Linked DNA regions of Homo sapiens: region 2 is linked to region 1. The links are contacts of gene promoters, found by promoter capture Hi-C in human tissues and cell types (Jung and others, 2019). All regions are on one chromosome and are shown on one strand. Each heading gives the region's core, a stretch centred on a gene start or on the middle of the fragment in contact. The rest is flanking DNA. Distances are from core to core; before and after follow the strand shown.

Evidence for each region. The method cuts DNA at HindIII sites, captures the fragments that hold promoters and counts their contacts. A contact is called where the count stands out against the background at its distance.
Region 2: a fragment that was not itself captured here is called in contact with the fragment with the promoter of PGAM5 in region 1 in 2 of the 25 tissues and cell types used here (IMR-90 fibroblasts and lymphoblastoid cells).

The regions. Positions count from the first base shown.
Region 1 is chr12:132,707,375-132,712,423 of GRCh38, reverse strand. It overlaps PGAM5 (PGAM family member 5, mitochondrial serine/threonine protein phosphatase), which reads right to left and starts at 1,582. Exons shown (of 6, transcript NM_001170543.2): 1 at 1,357-1,582. The coding sequence starts at 1,547. It overlaps LOC124903063 (a long non-coding RNA gene), which reads left to right and starts at 1,829. Exons shown (of 2, transcript XR_007063551.1): 1 at 1,829-1,930. RefSeq lists silencers at 1,066-1,175, 1,386-1,845, 4,914-5,049 and an enhancer at 2,016-2,065. The HindIII fragment of the contact is 20,255 bases long and covers 1-5,049 here.
Region 2 is chr12:132,801,455-132,806,471 of GRCh38, reverse strand. It overlaps GOLGA3 (golgin A3), which reads left to right. Exons shown (of 24, transcript NM_001389683.1): 7 at 1,450-1,756; 8 at 4,503-4,705. Among named protein-coding and RNA genes, the nearest start is that of GOLGA3, 25 kb to the left of the region's middle. The HindIII fragment of the contact is 7,480 bases long and covers 1-5,017 here.

The DNA of each region.
Region 1 (5,049 bases), core at 333-2,832:
TCATGAGAAAACCTTCAGAGAAGTCTCAATTGAGGGACCTTCTACCAAACCCCTGACCAGGACGCCTCAAACACTCATGATCATCAAAACAAGTCTGAGAAATTGTCACAGCCAAAACATGCCTACGGAGGCATGAAGACTACTTGTCATGTGGGACCCTAGAACAGAACAGCAGGTAAAAGCTGAGGAAATCTCAATGAAACATGAACCTTAGTTAACAGTAATGTATTATAAACTAATATAATAACTATAATTAATCTATATTATTTTGGCTCATTAATTTTGATATATACACCATGCTTAGTGTATGATGCTAATAATAGAGGAAATAAGGTTAACAAAAGATAAAAATCTAATATAAAGTACCTAACGCAACCACAGTAGTATAATTCTGTGCCCCCTTTCTCAAAGTACTGAGTATAATGAGGAGTTAGGACTGGGAAAACCATCCTTGCCGCTAGAGCAGTCCTGGCCGACAGAAACAGAATGCCAGCAACATGTGAAATTATACATTTTCTAATAGCAACATTAAAAAGAAACAGGTGAATTTCGATCATACTTTTAATTCAATATGCTAAAAATACTATTTCAACACATAACTAATGTTAAAAACCTGCACTACTTTTTTTTTTTTTCCTTTGAGACAGGCTCTGTTGCTCAGGCTGGAGTGAAGTGGCGGGATCTCGGCTCACACTGTGCAGCCTGGGACCCCTGGACTCAAGGGATCCTCCTACCTCAGCCTCCCGAGTAGCTGGGACCACAGGCGCGCGCCACCTCGCTCGGCCAATTTTTTTTGTATTTTTTGTAGAGATGGGGGTCTCACTATGTTGCCCAGGCTGGTTTCAAATTTCTCAAGCGATCCTCCGGCCTCAGCCTCCCAAACGCTGGGATTACAGGCCTGAGCTACCGCACCCGGCCCTGCTTGCGTTAAGTTTAAATTGACGTAAACTAAGCATTCCCTTCAGGAATCACACGAGCCATATTTCAAACGCTCAATAACCGCACGCAGCTCGCGGGCGCGCTCCTGCAAACGCCCCTGAAGGAGGCCCGGCTTCCACCTCAGCCTCGCCCCGGCCCGCGCTCCGGCGATGGCACCCAGGGCGGACTCGCAGGGGCGGGGAGAAGGGCGAGGACGCGACGGAGCTCGGCCACAGAAGCCGGCGGGAAGGGTCAGCCGCCCCCGGAACCCTCCGCGCAGAGCGGCCCCGGAAAGCGGCTCCTCCGCTGGGGAAAGCAGACGGCGACCCCAGATCCCGACCCGATCGCAACCTTAAACCTGGTCCCGATCTCGATCCCAACGGTAACACCTGCCCTGACCCCCATCCCGACCCCGGCCCCAAACAGCCCCGCGCGCACCTGTCCCAGTTGGGGTCCCAGACACCGGGGCCCGGCCGCGCGCCCCCCGCCCAGGCCGGCGGCTCAGCCGGGCGTGGCTCCGCGTCCCCGCCTGCGCGCGGCTTCCCTACCGCCACGGCCGAGAAGAGCACGGCGGCCGAGCCCCCGGCCAGCCCGCAGGCCGCCAGCTGCAGCGCCTGCCGGAACGCCATGCCGCTTGCTCCCGCGCCGGCCCGCGCAGGCGCCCACGGCCCCGACGGCGCTCCGCGAGGAACACGCTTCCCCCGGCTGCCGCTTCCGGGCGGCGGGGGCGGAAGTCCCGCCTCCTGGGGCGCGGCAGGACGCGGGGCAGCCTTGCGCGAAGGGGCGTTTTCGTGGAGCCACCTGCCGCGCCACGCTCCAGTCCCGTCACTTGTGCTCGCGAGCGCCGGTGCGCGCAGGTGCGGGCGGGGTTGTGGGGACGCCGGGAGGGCGGCGCGGTACTTTCCAGAAGGTTCCGCACCGGAAGCGCCTGCCGAGGCCGGAGGCTGGGTGCAGGGGCGGAGACGCGGAGAACTTGGGATCCTGGTTTAAGGGAGCTGGGAAGCTGCCGCAGGTTTGTTTAAACGATATTTTTTTGGTGGCGGAACACGAAGTAAAGTTTTCCGTCGGCGCAGTTCCTGCGTGTGCTGTTCAAGCGGCCTGAAGTGCGTTCAGGTTCGGCCGGGCTGTCCCTCCTCCTGGTCCCGACCCCTCAAACCCCGGGCCGAACACCGCCCTCTCCTGCGGGACAGTCTTTCTATGGCCGGCGCGTTTCGCCTAGCAGGGTCCTCAGAGGGACCGCGTTAGAGCCTGGGTTTCCTTCCAGGGGGACCAGCGCTCCCTGGGTGGACCGACCCCACCGCTTACCCATTGCTGGACGCCTGCGTGCACCGACCCCACCGCTTACCCATTGCTGGACGCTTGCCCTGTTGCCATCTCCTCGCTAGCGTGAACAGTGCTGCGTGCAGATCTCTCTTTCATTGATTGTTTTGCGTCTGTACCCAGAAGTGGGATTGCTGGACCATCTCTGCCCATTTTAAAATTGGGAAATGACATGATCTGATTTAAGCTATTTAAAAATCACTTGGGCCTGGGCTCGGTGGCTCACGCGTGTAATCACAACACTTTGGGAAGCCGAGACAGGCGGATCACCTGAGGTCAGAAGTTTGAGACCAGCCTGGCCAACATGGTGAAACCCGGTCTCTACTAAAAATACAAAAATTAGCCGGGCACGGTGGCTCCAGCCTGTAATACCAGCTACTCAGGAGGCTGAGGCAGGAGAGTTGCTTGAACCCAGGAAGCGGAGGTTGCAGTGAGCTGAGATTGCCTCACTGCACTCCAGCCTGGGCAACAGAGTGAAACAATGTCTCAAAAAAATAAAAATAAAAAAACTGAATGGTTCCACAGAAATACTGAGACTTCTGCTTAAACAGGCTTTCTTGAACCTGTACGCTTCCAGTTGGGTCTGCTGCTTCCAGGTCATTTACTAAAAATGATAGGAAGATTTAAAAAATAAAAATAAAAGGAAGGCCGGGCGTGGTGGCTCACGCCTGTAATCCCAGCACTTTGGGAGGCCTAGGTGAGCGGATCACGAGGTCAGGAGCTCGAGACCATCCTGGCTAACACGGTGAAAACCCGTCTCTACTAATAATACAAAAAAAAAAAAAAAAAATAGGGCATGGTGGCGGGTGCTTGTAGTCCCAGCTACTAGGGAGGCTGAGGCAGGAGAATGCCGTGAACCCGGGAGGCGGAGCTTGCAGTGAGCCGAGATCGCGCCACTGCACTCCAGACTGGGCGACAGAGCGAGACTCTGTCTCAAAAAAATAAAGGAAAATTGGGCCGGGCGCAGTGCCTCACGCCTGTAATCCCAGCACTTTGGGAGGCTGAGGTGGGCGGATCACGAGGTTAGGAGATCAAGACCAGCCTGACCAACATGGTGAAACCCCGTCTTTACTGAAATACAAAAAAGCCTGGCGTGGTGGTGCGCGCCTGTAGTCCCTGCTACTCGAGAGCCTAAGGCCGGATAATCGCTTGAACCTGGGAGGCAGAGGTTGCAGTGAGCCAGGATGGTGCCACTGCACTCCAGCCTGGGTGACAGAGACTCTGTCTCAAAAAAAAGAAAATCAGCCAGGCTCAGTGGCTCATGCCTGTAATCCCAGCACTTTGGGAGGCCGAGGCGGGCAGATCACCTGAGATCAGGAGTTTGAGACCAGCCTGGCCAACATGGTGAAACCCCATCTCTACTAAAAATACAAAAATTAGCTGGTACATACCTGTAATCCCAGCTACCCAGGAGGCTGAGGCAGGAGAATCGCTGGAATCCAGGAGGCAGAAGCTGCAGTGAGCTGAGATCACACTACTGCACTCCAGCCTGGGTGACAGAGCAAGACTCCATCTCAAAAAATAAAATAAAAAACAAGGGAAAATCCACAAGGACATAGTTGAATCCATAAGAAGAAATGACAGCAGATAAATCAGTTAACAAAAGTTCAAGAGCTGGAGATCAGATCTTTATCGACCTGAGAATATGGAACACCAGTGCCTATGTGGAAGGAAACCAGGAAGCAAGTTCATTTAATCCAGTGAGTCTGGAAGAGTCTGGGAGTTGGCAGCATTAGCCTCCTGTCTGAGAGCTGTGGGGCTGAAAGCAGGAGCATTTAGAGGAAAAGGTTGCCTTCCACATTTCGTTTCTCCCCCACATGTTCAGGGGAATAGCTCACTTTCATCACCGTGGAGCACTAGAGAAAGGCCATTCCAGGGGACTTGAACAGGAGGGTTCTGGATTTCAGGACACCAAGCATAGCTCAGATTGGGGATGCAGTAATAAAGATGGGATTATACAGAGTTCACATAAGGAAGAGTAGGACCTCTAACCCCTTTCCTCCAGATAGCCACAAGAATGTTGGCCACTAGGCTCATTCCCTGCTCAGCTACCACCACCATCCTTCCCCCAATGCCCTGACAAGAACTAAAGGATTCCTCTGTGTGGAAACTGACCAGCCCAGGAGAAAATATTTTTTTTTAATGTATTTTTTACGCCGGGCGCAGTGGCTCATGCTCGATAATCCCAGCACTTTGAGAGGCCGAGACAGGCGGATGGATCACTTGAGGTCAGGAGTTCGAGACCAGCCTGGCCAACATGGTGAAACCCCATCTCTACTAAAAATACAAAAAATTAGCAGGGCATAGTGGCACGCGCTGGTAATCCCAGCTACTCAGGAGGCTGAGCCAGGAGAATCACTTGGAAACGGGAGGCTGCAGTGAGCTGAGATCATGCCACCGCACTCCAGCCTGGGCAACAGAGTGAGACTCTGTCTCAAAAAAAAAAAAAAAAAAAAAGCCTGTTTTCTGATGACTGTTAAGTGTGTGAAACTAAAAACTCCTGGTCTCTGCTCTCCCCTGTGTGCCTGACAGCACTCCGTAAAGGTGTGTTCAGCGAACTGACCGGATGCGGGCTGTGGTAAGCCATATACATGATGTGAAATCTTCTCCAGCAAATTCTCTTGACCTTGCCGTGACACTCTGATGCCCTATGATGAGGTGGTGAAGATGGTGGCTCAAGACCTGGCTGACTGCCTCTGAATCAGGACTGTCTCTTGCTAGCTGAGGCATCTTGCATCCCCCACATGTGGAGTAGAGAAAACAATGGCACCTCCCTCAGGGCTGCTGCAGCTCTCAGAAGAGTTCCGGCAC
Region 2 (5,017 bases), core at 2,483-4,982, 92 kb before region 1:
ACATGGTCCTTGGACACAAACCAACCAGTTTGTGACACCTAAAGCTGTGTCTACAGAAGAGGTGATTTCGGCTGTTTTGAGGCTAATTCTGGTTGTACGGTCGTCACTTCTCCAGTGTTACAGCGTGAGCCTCCCTCCGTCGGATGCATTTCCCCTCCTCTGTGTAGCCACTCTCTCGAACGGTGGCTTGCTGTCACTGCACTTTGTCTTCTTATCCTCTTAGGATCACTGATTGGTCCTTCGGTTGCATCCACACCAAGATCGTGAGGGTTGTTTCAGGTGTGGTGGTTGCTGGCCCCTTGCTCTAGGGTCTCCTGGAGTTTGTGGAGTTCCTCAATTGCTTTGGGTGTTTGTTGTCTTGGTGATGTGTGAACTGGATCCCTGCCCCTGTAGGCCTCAGCGTGGGGGCAGGTGGTGGGGCGATTTCCTCTGGCGATTCTCTGCTGCTCCTGGGACCACACAGCACTGCGGTGGCCACTCAGGACTGTGCTGTGTCCCGTGGCTCTGGCTGGAGCCGCACTTAGGCAGCCGCCTTTCCCTGCCTGTGTTTTTTGCCCATTTCCCCCCAGATCTGAATCCGCTTTTAATCTCTCAGGGGTCCCTCTACACGTCTGGCATTCTGTGTGTGTGCGCATACATGTGCACCCGTGTACACGTTTGGTGTTTTGAACACGTTTCCAGTGTCCTCGCAGGAGACGGGTGCTTCCCCAGCCCTGCCCTAGCGCTGCCCTGTGCAGGTGCAGTTGGGCCCAAAACCAGTGCAGGCTCCCTGTGCGTCCTGGGCCTGTTTGGAAAGTCGCCTTTTTCTGTGACGGCTGTGCTGGGAGAGCGCCTGGGGGTCTCGGGGTCCTCTGTCAGGCCTTGGGAGAGCGCCTGGGGGTCTCGGGGTCCCCTGTCAGGCCTTGGGAGAGCGCCTGGGGGTCTCGGGGTCCCCTGTCAGGCCTTGGGAGAGCGCCTGGGGGTCTCGGGGTCCCCTGTCAGGCCTTGGGAGAGCGCCTGGGGGTCTCGGGGTCCCCTGTCAGGCCTTGGGAGAGCGCCTGGGGGTCTCGGGGTCCCCTGTCAGGCCTTGGGAGAGCGCCTGGGGGTCTCGGGGTCCCCTGTCAGGCCTTGGGAGAGCGCCTGGGGGTCTCGGGGTCCCCTGTCAGGCCTTGGGAGAGCGCCTGGGGGTCTCGGGGCAGGGTCCTCTGTCAGGCCTTGGGAGAGCGCCTGGGGGTCTTGGGGTCCCCTGTCAGGCCTTGGGAGAGCGCCTGGGGGTCTTGGGGTCCCCTGTCAGGCCTTGGGAGAGCGCCTGGGGGTCTTGGGGTCCTCTGTCAGGCCTTGGGAGAGCGCCTGGGGGTCTCGGGGTCCCCTGTCAGGCCCTGACTGACTCGCTGGTTGTGTTCCTGTTAATACACTGGATGGAAGTGACTCGTTTTCTTAAAATCATTGTGGTTGTTGGGATCTTTTCAGGCACTTAAAGAGAAGGCTGAGCTGCAGGCCCAGCTGGCCGCCCTCAGCACGAAGCTGCAGGCGCAGGTGGAGTGCAGCCACAGCAGCCAGCAGCGGCAGGATTCGCTGAGCTCGGAGGTGGACACCCTGAAGCAGTCGTGCTGGGACCTGGAGCGAGCCATGACTGACCTGCAGAACATGCTGGAGGCAAAAAATGCCAGCCTGGCGTCGTCCAACAACGACTTGCAGGTGGCCGAGGAGCAGTACCAGAGGCTTATGGCCAAGGTAGAGGACATGCAGAGGAGCATGCTCAGCAAGGACAACACAGGTGAGGCTGGCCCTGGCCACGCCCTCCCCTCCCTGACTGGTCCCTGCTGCTCCCTCCTCCTTCCTCGACTGGCCCCCGCCACGCCCTCCTCCTTCCCTGACTGGTCCTTGCTGCTCCCTCCTCCTTCCTCGACTGGTCCCCGCTGCTCCCTCCTTCCTCGACTGGTCCCCGCCACGCCCTCCTTCCCTGACTGGTCCTCGCCACGCCCTCCTCCCTGGTGCTGACAGCTCTGTCGGCATGTGACTGTGCCTGTGAGGGTTGCATTGGTTTATAGTTTACACATAAGGAGGCTGCTTTTCTAAAGGAAATACAAGTTTTAGTTGAACTTGTGGAATTGTGTACATTTTTGTGTGCACATCCAGGGGAATGAATTAGGTCTTGGAGATTGACCTTGGACCCTGGAGTATCTGCGGTGATCCTGCCTCAAAAGTCCAGTGTTATTTGGGAGTATAGAGCTGCCCACTTATTCCACAGAATTGCAGATTCCATTTAAAATATTCAAGAACAGCTCCTTGACTGTCCGTCTGGCAACCTTTTCTCCCTGGATGCAGTGCGTCGGTCCAGCTGCCTCCCTATAGGGCTCGCCCAGAGAGTACAAGTAGGGCAGTGGATTGCGGAAGCCGCGGCGGGCTTCCATGTGGCTTGGCAGCACGCCTTCCACCCCCTCAGTCCCCGCCCGGGCCAGTCCCAGAGCTCACACTCCAGTGCCCAGCAGACACGGAGAAGACTGTGGTTGGCCTGCTCAGAGCAAGCGTGAACAGGAGTGGGAAGGAGAGGGCGAAGCAGGGTGGGAAGATTGAAGACAAAGCCCGAGGGGTGTAGAGTGACCCGGGTCCAGAGTCCTCCCAGGGAGGCCGCTTGGTGGGCTCATCTCTCAGGTCTTGGGATCTCCTGAGCCAGGGGTCCCTGGTGCAGCCGCTGTGAGGGCTGACTCCATGTGAGCCGGTCCGCCTATGAGGCTGTGAGACTGGGTCTTGGATGACACAGAGGAAGGTGACAAGCTGGCGTCACAGAGGCTACATTCTAATACTAGGAAAGAGAAAGCCGGCCGAGAGACAGTAGTACTCTTGTAATCGCTTTAATATTTTAGTCCTTGAGCATTTCGTGATACCCAATCCCTTAGGAAAAACCATGAAACCCAAAAAGTTCTCAACACTAAAGTAGTTTGGGGCCCTGTGGGTTGCCACGCTTCACTTGACCAGTGATCGGGGGGTGGCAAAACCAACCTGAACTTTGATGAGGCCGCCCAGTCCTAACCGGTGGGTTTAAGTTGGAATTAGCCACACGGATACCCTTGCTGTTTGTTGATGGCTGGTAGACATCGTTGGGTCGAAGACAGAGCCTCGGCGTCCATGACCATTTTCACAGATTTCCTAAGTGTGAATTTGCCGACTTGATTAAATTTGTTTGAACCACAAACTCAGTATTCATGGACACGTGTGGAGCAGCAGAGTACGTGAGTCATCCTAGGCGCCCGCTGAGGAGGGCAGGATACTCTGCCTGCCTTGGTGCTCAGCCGGGCTGCAGGCAGGAGTTCTTTCCAGGGCCATGTTTACATGTTTGTGCTTTGGGGGGTAATTTTGCAGTTAAAGATGGCCCCAAACACTGTCTAGTGTTTTTTTTTGTTGTTTTGTTGTTGTTGTTGTTTTGTTTTGTTTTTGAGACGGAGTTTCACTCTTGTTGCCCAGGCTGGAGTGCAATGGCGCCATCTTGGCTCACCGCAACCTCTGCCTCCCAGGTTCAAGCGATTCTCCTGCCTCAGCCTCCCTAGTAGCTGGTATTACAGGCGTCTGCCACCGCGCCCGGCTAATTTTGTATTTTTATTAGAGACAGGGTTTCTCCATGTTGGCCAGGCTGGTCTCGAACTCCCAACCTCAGGTGATCCGCCCGCCTCAGCCTCCCAAAGTGCTGGGATTACAGGCGTGAGCCACTGTGCCCGGCCAACACTGTCTAGTGTTTTTAAACACAGAGAGGATGTGAGGTGTTTCATGGAGAAGATGTACTTCATTTTTTTCTTTTGGTTTATTTTTTTCAATTCATCCTGTTTCTATTTTTTTAAATTTTCTTTTTGTTTTTAAAAATTCATTTGTCTTTGAGATGGGTTGCTCTGTTGCCCACGCTGGAGTGCAGCAGTGCAGTTGTGGCTCACTGCAGCCTCAAACTCCTGGGCTCATGGGATCCGCCCGCCTCAGCCTCCCAAGTGGCTGGGACCACAGATGCATGCCACCCCGCCTGGCTAATTTTTTTTTTTTGGTGGTGGGGGATCTCGCTGTGTTGCCCAGGCTGGTCTGGATCTCCTGGGCGTGCACCCCTGTGCCCCCTGCACCCCCCATGCCCCCTGCACCCCCGTGTCCGGCCACTGTTATTTCCTAGAGAATCTTTGCTCAGGCTTGTTGGTCAAGTTGCTGTTGGCCGTGAGCTCGGTGTGAATGAATCGACGCTATGTATTAGATCGGTGTCGTAAATGGAAACACTGAACAGAGGTTATGTATTGATGAGCTGGTGAAGGTGCTGTGAGCAGAGGCCTGCAGGAACCTCACCCTGCATTTCTGCCAGGAGCGGCATCTCTCAGCGCCCACTAATGCCGTGTTCACGGCGACTTCATGGAGTCAGCTATGGGGAATAACCGGAACTGACTCATTCTTGGTCTCCCCTGAGAGTCCCGCCTTGTGTCCCGCACGCGCGGAGCTGCGGACTCCCCCGTTGGCCGTCGCTGGCCTGAGCCGCTGTGCTTGCCCCATTTCAGTGCACGACCTGCGACAGCAGATGACAGCCTTGCAGAGCCAGCTTCAGCAGGTGCAGCTGGAGCGGACGACGCTGACCAGCAAGCTGAAGGCGTCGCAGGCGGAGATCTCGTCCCTGCAGAGTGTCCGGCAGTGGTACCAGCAGCAGCTCGCCCTGGCACAGGAGGCCCGCGTCAGGCTGCAGGGTGAGATGGCCCACATCCAGGTACGGCCCACATCTACCTTCCAGGGCAGGTCACGCTTCTTGTCTTCATGTAGAACGGTGCTTTTTCCTGAGATTTTTCTGTTTTTAGAGTTCACAGGCATGTTTTTGTTTTTAACCTGCTGTCCAGCCCACCCCGTGTCCCATGTAGGACGTGTCGTATGCAGGACGTGTCCCGTGGGCCCCCCCCCAACCTTCTGACATGGGAGTCCCACGGCAGCCTCTGCCAGCATTTTCAGTTCCAAAGCCTCTCTTGCTGGGCATGGTGACACATGCCGGTGAATCCTCATTTGCCTGGGTCTCGGGACCCTCCCA